Regions from separate parts of the Homo sapiens genome. Here all the other regions are linked to region 3. The links are contacts of gene promoters, found by promoter capture Hi-C in human tissues and cell types (Jung and others, 2019). All regions are on one chromosome and are shown on one strand. Each heading gives the region's core, a stretch centred on a gene start or on the middle of the fragment in contact. The rest is flanking DNA. Distances are from core to core; before and after follow the strand shown. Region 1 overlaps GAL3ST3 (galactose-3-O-sulfotransferase 3). Region 2 holds the start of RBM4 (RNA binding motif protein 4). Region 3 holds the start of RIN1 (Ras and Rab interactor 1).

What was found. Contacts are between HindIII fragments. The study calls those that stand out against the background at their distance.
Region 1: a contact is called between a fragment that was not itself captured here and the fragment with the promoter of RIN1 in region 3, in 1 of the 25 tissues and cell types used here (pancreas).
Region 2: a fragment that was not itself captured here is called in contact with the fragment with the promoter of RIN1 in region 3 in 1 of the 25 tissues and cell types used here (dorsolateral prefrontal cortex).

Annotation. Positions count from the first base shown.
Region 1 is chr11:66,041,593-66,046,195 of GRCh38, forward strand. It overlaps GAL3ST3 (galactose-3-O-sulfotransferase 3), which reads right to left. Exons shown (of 3, transcript NM_033036.3): 2 at 3,699-3,935; 3 at 1-2,085. The coding sequence starts at 3,823. The coding sequence ends at 915. Among named protein-coding and RNA genes, the nearest start is that of GAL3ST3, 5.3 kb to the right of the region's middle. RefSeq lists a silencer at 3,691-3,740 and an enhancer at 3,851-4,050. The HindIII fragment of the contact is 5,576 bases long and covers 1-4,603 here.
Region 2 is chr11:66,637,748-66,642,448 of GRCh38, forward strand. All of the region lies in intron 1 of RBM14-RBM4 (RBM14-RBM4 readthrough), which reads left to right. RBM4 (RNA binding motif protein 4) reads left to right here and starts at 956. Exons shown (of 4, transcript NM_002896.4): 1 at 956-1,005; 2 at 1,953-2,376. The coding sequence starts at 1,965. RefSeq lists enhancers at 407-1,120, 885-1,254, 1,121-1,832. The HindIII fragment of the contact is 5,623 bases long and covers 1-4,218 here.
Region 3 is chr11:66,334,111-66,337,683 of GRCh38, forward strand. It overlaps RIN1 (Ras and Rab interactor 1), which reads right to left and starts at 2,324. Exons shown (of 10, transcript NM_004292.3): 1 at 2,207-2,324; 2 at 1,868-2,048; 3 at 1,652-1,766; 4 at 1,500-1,572; 5 at 1,297-1,388; 6 at 404-1,141; 7 at 1-114. The coding sequence starts at 2,292. It overlaps BRMS1 (BRMS1 transcriptional repressor and anoikis regulator), which reads right to left. Exons shown (of 10, transcript NM_015399.4): 10 at 3,229-3,573. RefSeq lists an enhancer at 2,804-3,573. The HindIII fragment of the contact is 7,337 bases long and covers 267-3,573 here.

The DNA of each region.
Region 1 (4,603 bases), core at 887-3,386, 290 kb before region 3:
GTCCTTCCTCTTTGCTTACCTGTCTTGCTCCTGTTCCAATGTTTCCCCATAAGCTCCATGAAAATAAGGCCCTATCTATCTGGTTCACCTGTATCCCCAAGTTACAGAGATGATGCTCAGTAAATGTCGCAGAATTTTGTGAAAAAGAACGATGTGGAAAGTGAGTGGGGCTAAGGTGGCCAGTCTGTGTTGGGGGCCCAGTCGGTCAAGCGGTTGAGGAGGGTTGTAGGCCTATGCCAGGTGGCGGGGGACCTTGAGTCCAGGCCCCCATCCTCATGGGTCCAGCCACAGCTCCTCCTGGGCATCCGTTTCATCCTCAAATGTGGGGAATCCGGCTTCTATGACTGACATACAACTCGCACATTTTAAAGATGTTTTATTAAAAAAAAGAAAAACCAACCAAACAAAAATCCCAACCCAAGAACTCTTGGTTCTGGGAGACTGGGAGCAGCTTAGGTCTGTGGGGAGGGTAGAACCTGGAAGACAGAAAAGTATAGGGAGCCTCAAGCCCTGGGAGGGAGAGCAAGAGCAGCCTTTCCCTAGGGCTGAGCCTCTCTCCATGGGGCCTGGGCTTATCCACTTGGAAAAGACAGGTTGTGGGGGCTCAGCCCCCAGAAAAAGGCAGGGTGAGCAGTTCTGGACAGCCCTCAGGCCTCTTGTCAAAATCACCAACCAGCTGGGAAGGAGAGGGTGGCCCAGCGCTGGATCCAGCCTATCAGCGCCGTGCCCGAAGGCAAGGTTCAGCCCACGATCGGGAGCGGGGGCTCAGATAGGGAGGCGTACCCCAAAGTTCAGCGAGGGACTCAAGCCCCTTGAAAAGAAAGGGCTCTCATGGGGGCAGGACATGGAGGCAGCCCCTGGCTGGACTCCTGGGAGGGCAGGGCAGGACCCATACTCCTGGAGGCCTGCGGAGCTCAGGGACCTTGAGGGCCGCGAGGCAGCACTCGGATGGGCCGAGGCGGGGGATTGTCCAGGACGGGCTCGGGCCGAGCCCGCGCACCGCCCCGGCGCTTCTGCTTGCGCAACAGGTAGTTCGAGTACTGGACCTCGGGCATGGCCAGCTTGAGGCAGGCCTCGGTGGCCGGGCCGGCGCCGCCGCCGGGCAGGTCATAGCCCATAATGTCCACCTTGCGGCTGGGCTGCCACGGCTGCAGCTGCTTGGTGCGGATCTGCGCGGCAGGCCGCAGCAGTGGCTCGTCCCCGAAGCAGCGCCGCAGTAGGCGCTGGCGGGCCTCGCGCAGCTCGCGCGCCTCGCGCTCCACGCACGCGCGGCCCGCGCGCGCCACGTGGCGCCAGAAGGTGGCGTTGAAGTGGTCGTAGAGGCCGGCGTCCAGGGCGTTCCAGGTGCGCGCCGCCCGCGCCAGCGCCGCGGGGATGGCGGCCAGGCGCGAGCTGGCGGCGCGCGCGTTGAGCTTGGCGTAGAGCACGTCGTCCAGGTCCCAGGCCAGTAGGCGCCGCAGCAGCACTAGCGACTCGTCGAAGTACTCGGCGATCATGACGAGCGAGAAAACCTCCTCCACCTGGCGGATGAGGCCCGCCAGGTAGGCGGCGTCGTCGCGCGGGCTGCGCTCATTGTCGCCGCCCAGGTCGTAGGCCAGCGTGTTGTGTGCGAACATGGCGAAGTGCTCGCCAGCGCGGTAGTATGCCTCGGGCGCGCGCAGGAAGGCCTCGAGCGAGGCGTTGGGTACGCGCCGGAAGGCCGGGCAGTACTGGTTGTAGTAGCTGAAGAGCGACTCGAACATGGCGGCCGGCTCGCGCAGGATGGTGACATAGACGGTGCTGGGCGGCATGAGGCGCTCCAGCTCCGCACGGTCGAAGCGCAGGTGGCTGGCCAGCACGTGCGGCGGCCGCGTGGCCGGGTGCACGAAGTGCGCCGAGAAGTTGCGGGGGTAGCAGAACTGGTGCTCGCAGCTCGGGTGCGGCAGGGCCACCGTCAGGTTGTGGCGCTCGGCAAAGCGAAACAGGATGTTCTGCACCGTCGTGCCTGCCGTCTTGTGAGTCTTCAGGAAGGCCACAGTCATGTGCTTGGGGCGCGGCGGCGAGTTCCGCAGAGGAGGGCAGCTCAAGGGGAACAGCTTGGGGTACCTGCCAGGCCCAGGGAGTGTGCGGAGAGGAGGGTGTGAGGGGGCTGCCGCTTGACCCCTGCCCTTACCCAAGGACTGTGGGATGCCCCACAGCGCGGCCCCGCCTGGGCTGCACTCATGGAAAGGTCGAGGGCGGTGCTTGGTAGCCTCTAAGATGCCCTCTATGATCCCTGCTGCCCTCCTGGTATTCATGCCCTTGAGTATTCCCCTCACCTGAGTTAGGCTGGACTTATCATTGCATCTAAAGAAGAGAAGAGGGCAGAAATGATGGGATGTCACTTCTTAAATTTCATCATAGAAAGACTGTGGCTGGCTAGTATCTTGGTGTCTTTCACTCAATCTGGGATGACAGATGATGGGGGAAGCAAGCTGCCATATAGTGGGCAGCCCTATAGGGAGCTACCACTAAGTGGGAAAAGCCCACAAGGACCTAAGGCCCTCAGTCCACCAGCCGGCTTGAAGACCTGAAGCCTGTCAAAACCACGTGAGTGAGCTTGGAAGCTGATCCCTTCCAATCAAGCCTTCGGATGAGACTGCATCACCAGCAAACACCTTGGTTGCAACCCCATGAAAGACCTTGGTCCAGAAGTTCCCAGTAAGCCACACCTGGCTTCCTGACCCAAAATAACAGATGTTTGTGTTTTCAGCTGCTAAGCTTTAAGATAATTTGTTTATGTAGAAATAAATAAGGGACAAAGACCCCTGGAGATCTTTGAGGAATCCCACTTTGTATATGTAGAAACTGAGGGCCAAAAGGAGAACAATCACTTACACAAAGTCTGGAGACGACTCACATGGTCACTAAATCCTTTTGCTCTTTCTCATTTTTACTCTTTAACTGGCTCCTCACTTTGTAGATGGTTGGCACTGGGCTTTGCAGCAACCCATTGTTATGTTTCTCTTGAGGCTTCTAAAGCCTCATTAATTCAGTCATCAAATATTTTTTGGGTGTCCACTATGTGCCAGGTTAATGCTAGGTTCAAGAAATACAGTAATATACAAAAACAATCCTAGCCCTCGTGAAGCTTTCATTTCTGTTGCTTCATTCTTAAAACATGGGTGTTTGGGATTTCAAACCAAATTATCTGGCAAGGGGGGCTGGGCGCATTCACACCATTCTCAGGGGCAGACAGTGTAGAAAATGGGGACATGAAGTCTCCGAGAGGTGCAGGGATTTGTTGGGTTCACACAGTGAGTCAGGAGTAGGGTTGGGGTTCCCATGAATCACATGGTATCCTGTGTGAGGGTGACTGGCTGTGTCACACATATCATGTCTCACTTTATAGATGAGAAAACGGGGGCTCGGAGAAGTGAGGGGACTTGGCCTTGCCCAGCACTACGGAAGTTGTGAGAAGTTGTTTCCACTGGGGAAATGCTTAGCTGCATGCTGTGGGGAGTTGAGCTGGATTCGGATCTCAGCTAACTGATTCTGTAACTTTGAGCAAGTCACTCAGCCCTTTCATTGAAGAGCAGTCCCTGTCCAGGGAGGCTGTGTGGCCCTAAAGGGAAAGCACTTTCAGAATAGAGGGGAGGAGCAAAGCCTAGCAGGACCCTTCTAGCAGGTGGAAGAATGGGGAGGGGAGCTCCGGCCCCCCTGGGGCCCCGCCCCCTTACCAGCTGAGCTGCGCCCCCTGGTGGATGAGAAGGCTTACGGTGCTGCACCCTAGCACCAGCAGCAGGATTTTCCGGCGGCTCATCATCTTGGTGGCCTGCTGCAGGCGCTGGAGGATGGGTGGCATGGCGGAGTACCCACCCCTGGACCAGCCAGGGCCTCACTATCCAGGACTCCCTTCACAGGCACTCATGGGGGATCCTGCGGCTCTGGTAGCAGGGCCAGTGTTCCCGAGAAGCCTGGCAGAAGAAGGCAGACGGGTTTGCAGTGGGCAGAGGAGATGGGATCTGGCCCCCAGCAGGTCTGATGCAAAGAGCTCCAACAGGTGGGGTAAGCAGAGAGGCCAGGGCAGATCGGATTCCTACCTCCCGTTATCAAGACCCTATCTCCTCACTGCTCCAGATAACTTAGTCTTGGGTGGAATTACAGGGTCTGGGGTGTAGCCAGCCCTTCAGGCTGTAGCCACTCCCATCCCTCAGCCCTGTCTCTGTCTCTCTGCCTGCTCCTAACTCGTCTTTGTCTCATGGTTATTTGTACATGTCTCCCCAGTGGAGTGGCTTTAGCGCCAGGGCTTGGCTCAGAACATAGAGGTCTCAACTCAAAGTTTCCTCTCCTCCAGGACTCCTTGCCCAATTGCTTTAGCCCAGGGTTGGTCCTGACTCCCCAGAGAAACCGAGCTCCTCGGAAACACTGATCAGGCCTTCACCTCCTTGGATCGATATGGCTTTGAGTCGATACTGCAGGCTTACTCTATGTACTGTATTATTACATACTTAATCCCATTTAGTCCTCACCACAGCCCTGACCTAGGTATTATTCCCACTGTATAGATAAGGAAACTGAGGCTCTAAGAGATTATATCACTTGTCCATAGCTACACAGCTGGTAACAGTAGAAATGAGATTCA
Region 2 (4,701 bases), core at 157-2,656, 300 kb after region 3:
TTGTATTTTGTTTACAGCTGGTTGTGACTAAGCTCTGTCCTCTAAAGTCGGTTCTAGGGGATTAAAACAGCTCTGGCTGATGGCGCCCAATAAAATAAAACAAAAAAACCTTTGCTGCTCCAGTTTTTTCTCAGGGTGGGGTCGGGGTATACTTTAAATCTCCATGGTCTCAGAAAGGTTTCTTCATCGCGGACCCTGGGAGGCTGGTTCCCAGAGGGAACTTGTCCTCAGCGTCTCCTGGACAGTGCAGCCTCCTGCCGGGCCTACTTCTGGAAGGCCATTACAGAGGTCCTTTCACCACCTGTGAGAGGTTTGATTTTGGGGGAGCTCCGGGACTCTCAAGGCTACAGTGTGGACTGCTGGCCCAAGGAGAAGGTTGGTTTCCTGAAGTGGTGGGTGGTGGGTTGGGGGGGGTCTTCGTTGTTTTTCTTCCCTGGCATGTGCCTGCATAAGCTATTTCCACAGCGTCCTGGCCGCGAGGGGGGGTGGTGCTTGGGAGGTTAGAGGGAGACACCTAGAGTGAACGGCAAAATGGAGCGCGGAATACTGTCTGGCTGTGCACGTGGAGGTGGCGAAATGTGGAAGCTTAACGAAGTTGGCGCCATGAAGCTAAAGACTGCTACCCCGGGGCTCTAGCTCGCTCCGCCTAATGGCGGGCCGCACCCCGCCGGCGAAGCCCACGTTTGTAGGTCCGCCCTCACGCTGATCTCTTGCCCAATCAGCGAGTTCGGCTTCGCGAGGTTGGTGCCCATTGGCTTTCGCATAAAAGCTCCGAGGTTACAGACGTTTCCACCTCTTGCCGGCCTCTTAGGTAATTGGCGTCCGTGGTAACCAATCAGGAAGAGGATCTGAGGGAACGCCGGCCTTTTACTTTCTTGAGTGGCCAATCCGGTTGTAGGCTCACCTCCCCCTTCTACTCAGAGCACTGCTGCGGCCGCCGCCATTTTAGCGTTTTGTCAGAAGCGTCCGCGCCGCGAGGAGGAGGCCCTGCTGGTTTCTGTGCGGGTGAGACTCCGAGCCTTTCCACTGCCTTTCTTGTACTGTGTTAAATCTTCTCTCACTCCCTTGGGCTTCGGGGGTGTCCTGGTAGGTCCGCAGTCTCCACACCCGTCACTGAGAGCCGACCTCGGTCCTCGGCATTGCGCGGTAAGCCGGGAGCAGCCCTTCCCCCACCGCCCCCTGAGAATACCTTGCTTTTTTTCGCCCACCCTGTCCCGCGCCCGACATGGCTGCTCTTGGAGCCTCGAGATTTCCACTGGGATAACCCCCTTTCCCTTATATCTGACAGTTACATTCTCGTTTCGGGAATTTCTCGGGCCGTGAGACATCGTCTGGTTAATGAATCTGAAGCTCTTTTCCGCGGCCGCGCATTTCAGTGTTCGGCAGGAGCTAGGACGGTGCCCCGAGAGAGGCGTTCACCACTCCAGTATTTCCTTTATCTCCCACTCCTCGCTGTCTGATCCGAGTCGCGCGTTCATTACTTCCAAAGGAAACTCAAATGTAGCTATTACAAGGCCCATTTTCCCGGAAATGATGGCTGCTTTGGTTCCTACGTGAGGAAAAGCCTGTTGATAATTTCAGGCAGGCAGTCAGCAAGCCTAGTAGACTTTTGTTTTCTGTTGTCCTCCTAGTGGATAGAAAAGCCTAGTACCCCCATTTCTTCATATGCTGTCTTTCATGCCCATTTCTGTTGGAAGGTATCGGTTCTTACCAAACCCTTTGTCTACTAAGGACCTCCCTATTGCAGACGTCTTCTTATTCTTACAGGTTCATGGCGGCTACTATAGCAGGCCTTAGTTCACTCCCACTTCCATTTGATTATTGTGTGGAGGTGTGTGTGCAGGCGTGTGAGAGAGAAAACTGGAAATATACATTAGAGTGAAAGTCGTTGTCTTTTGTGAACGGATGTGGGCCTGAGGTCTTTTGTCAGATGTCTTGTTTTTCTCTCCCAGGCTCTTGTCAGGATGGTGAAGCTGTTCATCGGAAACCTGCCCCGGGAGGCTACAGAGCAGGAGATTCGCTCACTCTTCGAGCAGTATGGGAAGGTGCTGGAATGTGACATCATTAAGAATTACGGCTTTGTGCACATAGAAGACAAGACGGCAGCTGAGGATGCCATACGCAACCTGCACCATTACAAGCTTCATGGGGTGAACATCAACGTGGAAGCCAGCAAGAATAAGAGCAAAACCTCAACAAAGTTGCATGTGGGCAACATCAGTCCCACCTGCACCAATAAGGAGCTTCGAGCCAAGTTTGAGGAGTATGGTCCGGTCATCGAATGTGACATCGTGAAAGATTATGCCTTCGTACACATGGAGCGGGCAGAGGATGCAGTGGAGGCCATCAGGGGCCTTGATAACACAGAGTTTCAAGGTGAACCACCCTCTTTGGGTAGAGGGCTGAACACAAGGCTGTGTGCAGAAAATGGTTGGATAAGTAAAAGGAGAGGTTTGGTAAAGATAACAGCTGTTGGCTGGCTGGTGATGAAGAAATAAGTGTGGGTGATGGACTTCTTATGATGTAGAATGCATGGGACTTAGGGGCTTTACCTTAGGCAAATGTCTCCTGGAGAAAAGCCACTCACCTTTTATTTGGAGCCCCTACGGCTTTTGTGCTTATCAGTGCAGAAACCCTTTTCTTTGAAGGCTTTCTGAGTTACTGGGCCTTTTTTATTTTTTATTTTTTTGTAGTAGAGCACAGTTCAGAGTTCCTCACTCTGAATTTATTGCCCTCAGCACAGGATCAGAATTCTGCATTTTACGTGAAGAACCTCTCAAAAACATGTCAAGCGACACTTATAGGACCAGAATCCTTGTTAAGCTGTCCTACCTTACACAAACTCTTTAAAGGGTTACAGCTCTTGTTGCTTTTATATTATACCTGTACCAAGGGATTGTATTTTGAGTTTAAGGCCACTCTAGAATTACAAGGCTGATTTTAGGACTTCCTGGGGAGGAGGCACTGGGGTTTTAGGGGCGGTAATGACTGTCTTTTCATTGGTTTGGGGGGCTGGACTTTATAAGATTTTGGTGAATAGAGCACTTAGATTTGTGTTATCTTGGAGTCTTAACCAAATGAATCTTTTGTGCCTGGAGGGCAGCATGGGTGATATGTGGATTGTCACTTCATTTGGAAGCATCTCAAATCCCCAGCATTTTGAATGCCTACATGTTGCTCAAAGGAAATGCTTGTTAGAGCATTTTGGATTTTGAATTTTCAGATTTGGGATGCTAAAATGGTACGTAGAACGCAAATATTCCAAAATCTGAGGTCTGAAGCAACAGTGGCAGTTCAGGGGTGGTGATCATGGTGAGTTGCTATCTGAACTCTTCTTTCACCTCCTTTGGGTTCCCAGTGTCAAAAAGAGTGGTGTCCTTTTTTAGCTTAATTAAGCAGGACTGAACAAAAATAATAAAAAATAAAAAAAGCCTTATTCAAATTATGGAGTATTTCCGTGACTCCTTGCTATATTTCAAACCTGTGTTCTGACAGTGTAGTTTGCCGATTCTTTTTCTGGGTACTACCTTTGTTAAGAGTCATTGCTGCCTTTGGCGTCCATTTCCCTTAAATTGGGCTTTTTTAGAGCTGAGAGTCTGATCATTATTTCCCCTAGTAATGGGTGCCCTGTGTCATGGGCATTGCTGTGCGTTAGTAAAGAAAAGTGACACAGGTCTCTCAGGTCTAGTTTGCTTTCTTTTTTTTAATTGGCAAGTTGAGAATTATTTTGTCAACAACTTAATTGAGAGCAAAGGTTGCTCTTGTGGAGGGTTTATGGTGTGATACCTAATTTTTGGACTGTTTCCCACACTTCAGCCCAGTCAGAAGAGGTGGTGTCTGCTTGTAGCAGTTAGGTTTAAGGAGAGGACAGTGTGGTCTTGATTCAGGACAAATTATCCTTATATAAAACTCTGGGTGTCTGAACCCTAGGTCCCCTGACACTAACCTATGCTTAGTTATTTTTACCTTATTTTATGTAATATTGGCGTTTCTCATTTCTTAATACTGTTCTGGTAGAATTATAGATGTATATTGATGAGCAGTAGTTATTAGGGTGGTCTTTTTTCCTTTCCGTTTCTCAGTGTTGGGTATCTTCTCTATTGCTTGCCCACTTAAAATCTCTTTTAGATATTTTTTAAAATTTAACTTCTTTTTCTGGCGTTAGAACCAACAGATCCTTAGATTAAGGCGTTTATTAATGATCTTTATGTCTGGAATGTGCATAGTTGCTTGCTTAGTTGCACTTGTTTTCTCTGGTTTTGTTAGGTGCCAAAGTGGCCCCCTGGGCAAATGCCAGAGACAAGCTAGCACTTTAAGGCACTTAAGTGCATAATTGCATATCTACTCTCTTTTAATAACCTGCAACCTAAACTTCCAGCTGTGTAGACCTCCTTGATATTTTGTTCCTTCCACCCCCGTTTCCCTATTGTGTTTTCTGGTCTCCCAGAATCTAACATTAATTTTGCAAGGAAAATTGTGTGTTTACCACTTTCTCTAATGTTAGAGGATCCATTTGTTGACTCTCCCTTGCTTTTGACCATTTACTCCTTTGACAGGTGTATGTTTAGGTGCATCATAACCAATTGCATTGGGAAGTTTTTGCAGGATTTGGATCTCTTCTGAATTTTGCTTACCAGTAAGCTGGTAGATCATGTTAGGTAGAAATTGCTTCTGTAGAGACTTACTAAAACTTAGTTTTAA
Region 3 (3,573 bases), core at 1,074-3,573:
CAGCTAGGCGGCCCAGGGAGCCGTCTGCGGCAAGCCGGCGCCGCAGGCGGGCTGCCAGGATGGGCCGGAGAGGCTTGAGCACAGAGCAATGCAATGACTTCTCCAGGACATGTTCTGCCGGAGGGACAGGGAGGGGTCAGGGGAAGACTGGGGGTATGGGGGGCAGAGGCAAGGGGAGAAGGGAGCAGGGGTAGAATCGGGGAGGAGAGGCAAGGAAAGCAGGAGGAGGTAGCCTGGGTGAGACGGAAGAGTTGGGGGAGAGAGGGGATGGAACTCTCTCGAACAGTGGTAAGACAAGATGGATTTGTAAAGCAGCAGAACAGAATCAGACAGGCTGGCGCTGTGGAGGGGAGCAGAGGGTCGGATGGGGCAGTGCTGGAGCTATGGAGAGACGGAGCCTCACCCAGCCTCTTAGGCGACAGCAGCTTCTCAGGGCCCAGCTCCGCACTCAGCATGGCCCGGGCCCGGCTCAGCGCCTGACGGATGCCCTGCAGCTCCTGGGGCTCGGGCCCAGCCCGCACCTGGGTCAGTAGGTCCTGCACCAGCTGGCCCGCGGCTGTGTGTCGGTCCTGCATCAGTGCTGCCGCAGCCCGGCCCACCTGCCGCTCCGGTGCCAGTAGGGAGCAGAAGGCGGCGCTCATGGACCGAAGCAGAGGTCGTCGGCGGCCCAGGTGGGGTGAGGTCGCTGGGCTCCCCCGGGACCCTGGCACCCCCTCCTCCTCGGAGCTGCTGGGGGAGCCGCAGTCCACCTCTTGGAGGGAGGGCATAGGCGGAAGGCTAGGGCCACTGCCTGCTGGCACGCGGTACCCCACTGAGCTCTCCCTCCGTAGCAGCTGGCAAGGGGGCAGCCGCTCTGTCTGGCTGGGGACTGCCCCTGGCAGCACGGGGACGGGGGGAGGTGGCACGGCAGGTGGAGACAGGGGGCTGGAGGTCTCTGTGGACACGCGCACTTTGAAGCTTCTCTTGAATTTCTCCCGCTTGGTGGGCCCTAGGTCCCCCGGGAACAGGGGGTTGAAGAAGCACAAGGCGGCTCCGGTGCCCTGGTCCAGCTCTTGAGGGGACCGGGCCTTCAGCTGGGGCAACACTGGGCCTCCAGCCGGGCCCCGCTGAGCCTTGATGTTGAGGGAGGAGCTCCAGAACTCTAGGGAACAAGAAACCGACTGGGGCCTCCGGGACTGGTTAGGGGAAGTTTCCCAACCAAGGCAAGGCAGGGGCTTCGGGCGGTGTGCTGCGAGCCTTGCCTTCCCCTCGGCCTCAGCTTGTTCATCTGTGCAATGGGTGGCAGGAAGCCCTTACCAATGCCCAGATGGGAGATGGCCTCCAGCTCTTTGTGAGTGGCTGCGTGGTGGATGGCTCTGGGGAGCTGCAGCGGGAGGAGAAGGATGTCCCTGAGGCCAGAGAGGGGAGCAGAAGGGAGTGAGGGCCGAAGAGGGCGGGAAGGATGGGCTGTCCCAAGGAGCAGGGCCCGTGGACACCAGGCACCCTGCGGGCAGACTCACCGGGTGTGGCAGTAGGCACAGATGAGCTGGACTAGGTCTGGGAACATGAGCTCCGAGCCCTCCAAGGAGACGCCTGAGAGAGGAGGGAAGTGAGGTGCTTCTCTGGGGAACCTCCCTGCTTCCAGCCCCTTCCCGCCAGGCCAGCCCCTCACCGCCAGGGCTCTCCAGGATGTAGTGGCTGGAGACGAAGGAGGGGCCACTGGCTTCAGGCAACCGCATGCACAGGGCCTGGCACTGGCGGGTGTTAGATTTCCGCACGAGGAACGTCTGCAAGTGGATAGGGCTCAGGCAGCTCAGGACCTTGGCGTCCCATCCCTCTCCCTCCCACCCCTGGCTGGCCAGTCCCTGGAGTGTGGGGCAAGACTCACCCCCGGGGGCTCGGTCCTCAGCATGTGCAGTGCGGCCGCTGCGTTGGCTTGCAGCTGCAGCCACACGGGCCGGGTGAGCAGCAGGCGCTCCCGCAGGCTCACAACGCGCCCCGGCCGCTGCGGCCCGCCTGCCTGCCCGCCGCTGGCATTGGGCACGTCATACAGTGGGTCCTGGGCTGGCCTGGGGGCAGGCACCCAGATCTGAGCAGGGAGCCAGGGGCTGGGACCCTTGCTCTCCTCTTCCCCACTCCCGGGTTTCCCACTTTCTCTATCCCCGGATAGGCCCTCCTCTCGCAGCCCCTCCCTGCCCCACCTGGCTGCCCTGCCAACTTCACTAACTTTTCTCTCGCCAGGTGCCCAGTAGTGAAGCTGGACGGGCTGGGGGCTCCAGGAGAGCCCGCGCCTGACTCTCCAGGGCTTTCCATGGCTGGGAGCTCCTTCGCTTCAGGAAGAGAATCCAGTCCCAAGGCAAGGCACGCACATCCCCAGTGAGTAACACTTCCTGAGGGCGGTCCGCCTGTCACACCCGCCAGTTAACTCTTGTGTGTCCACCCTGCCTGGCCAGTGCCCGCCTCCTCTGTTCTGGACCCTGCTTTGGGGGTCAGGGGTCCCCTCCATGCTAGCCCTGCTCTGAGGGCCCCAGCTGGGGGATGCCACCTCCACACACGGCCTCCTGCAGCCTCACCAGCTACTCACATTGCACACGTGGGCGGGAAGTGGTTAAGCGGCCTCAGTCCCCACAGGCCCCAGCCATGCTCTGGGGGCACCTTTGGCTCTGTGGTCAGTTGCTCATCTGCCCCTGGCCTCAGGTCAGCCTTGTGGGAGAGCACCCTCTACTGTCCATAGATGACTCATTCCTGAACCTGGGTTTTAGGATTTTAGGTTGCCATGGAGAAAATATGCCATGTCTCCATGGAAACCAACCTATTTGCTTAACTGAGGTTCTGGGGGTGGTTCTGACACTCAGTGCTAACCAGGGGGAGTCTGGCTGTGAGGTCGTCAGCACATGGCGGTGCTGCCGGCTGCCTCCCACGCACGCAGGCTCTGCCAGCCTGCCTTGCCAATCTGCCAGGCAACTGGGACAGGTGCAGACATGACCCAGGCTCCAAGCACACGCATCCACCCTCCCCGCCGAGGCACTCTCCCGGTGCCATATGTTGACTCTGCCCAGCGCCAGGCAGCCCAGCGCCCACCTCCCCCTCCCCAGCCTGGCCCCACGCACAGTGCTCTAGCCTCTGCTGGGTAGTGTGAGGAGTGGCAATCTGCAGGCACCCTAGAAGTCGGCCTGGTTCAGGTGCTCCCCACGGGAGCCCTGATTCTCTTGCAAGGTAAATCACACACACACACAGGGCACGCCAGAGTCCCAGGAAAGGTTTTAATTCCAGTCCTTGGAATCTGAGAAGCAGACACCAAGAACTGCCCTGAGAACACCTGGGGGGCCTGGCATCTTGCCTCCAGATCCAGCCAGGGTGGACAGACCCCCAGATAATCACGTCTGACTCAGAGTTCCCGCACAGTGGAAACTGGCTCCCTGGCCCTGAGGCCGGACAGCCTGCATCCAACATCAGCAAGAGGATGTGGCTTTGACTTCGGCTGTCTTCTCTGTCAGGGGAGCCCCAAGAGATGGATCTTCAGGAGTGGGAGGTGGCAGGCGGCTCAGGGATGGAGACAGCAGCCTTGCCTGGTCAGGTCAGCTCCACGGCCAC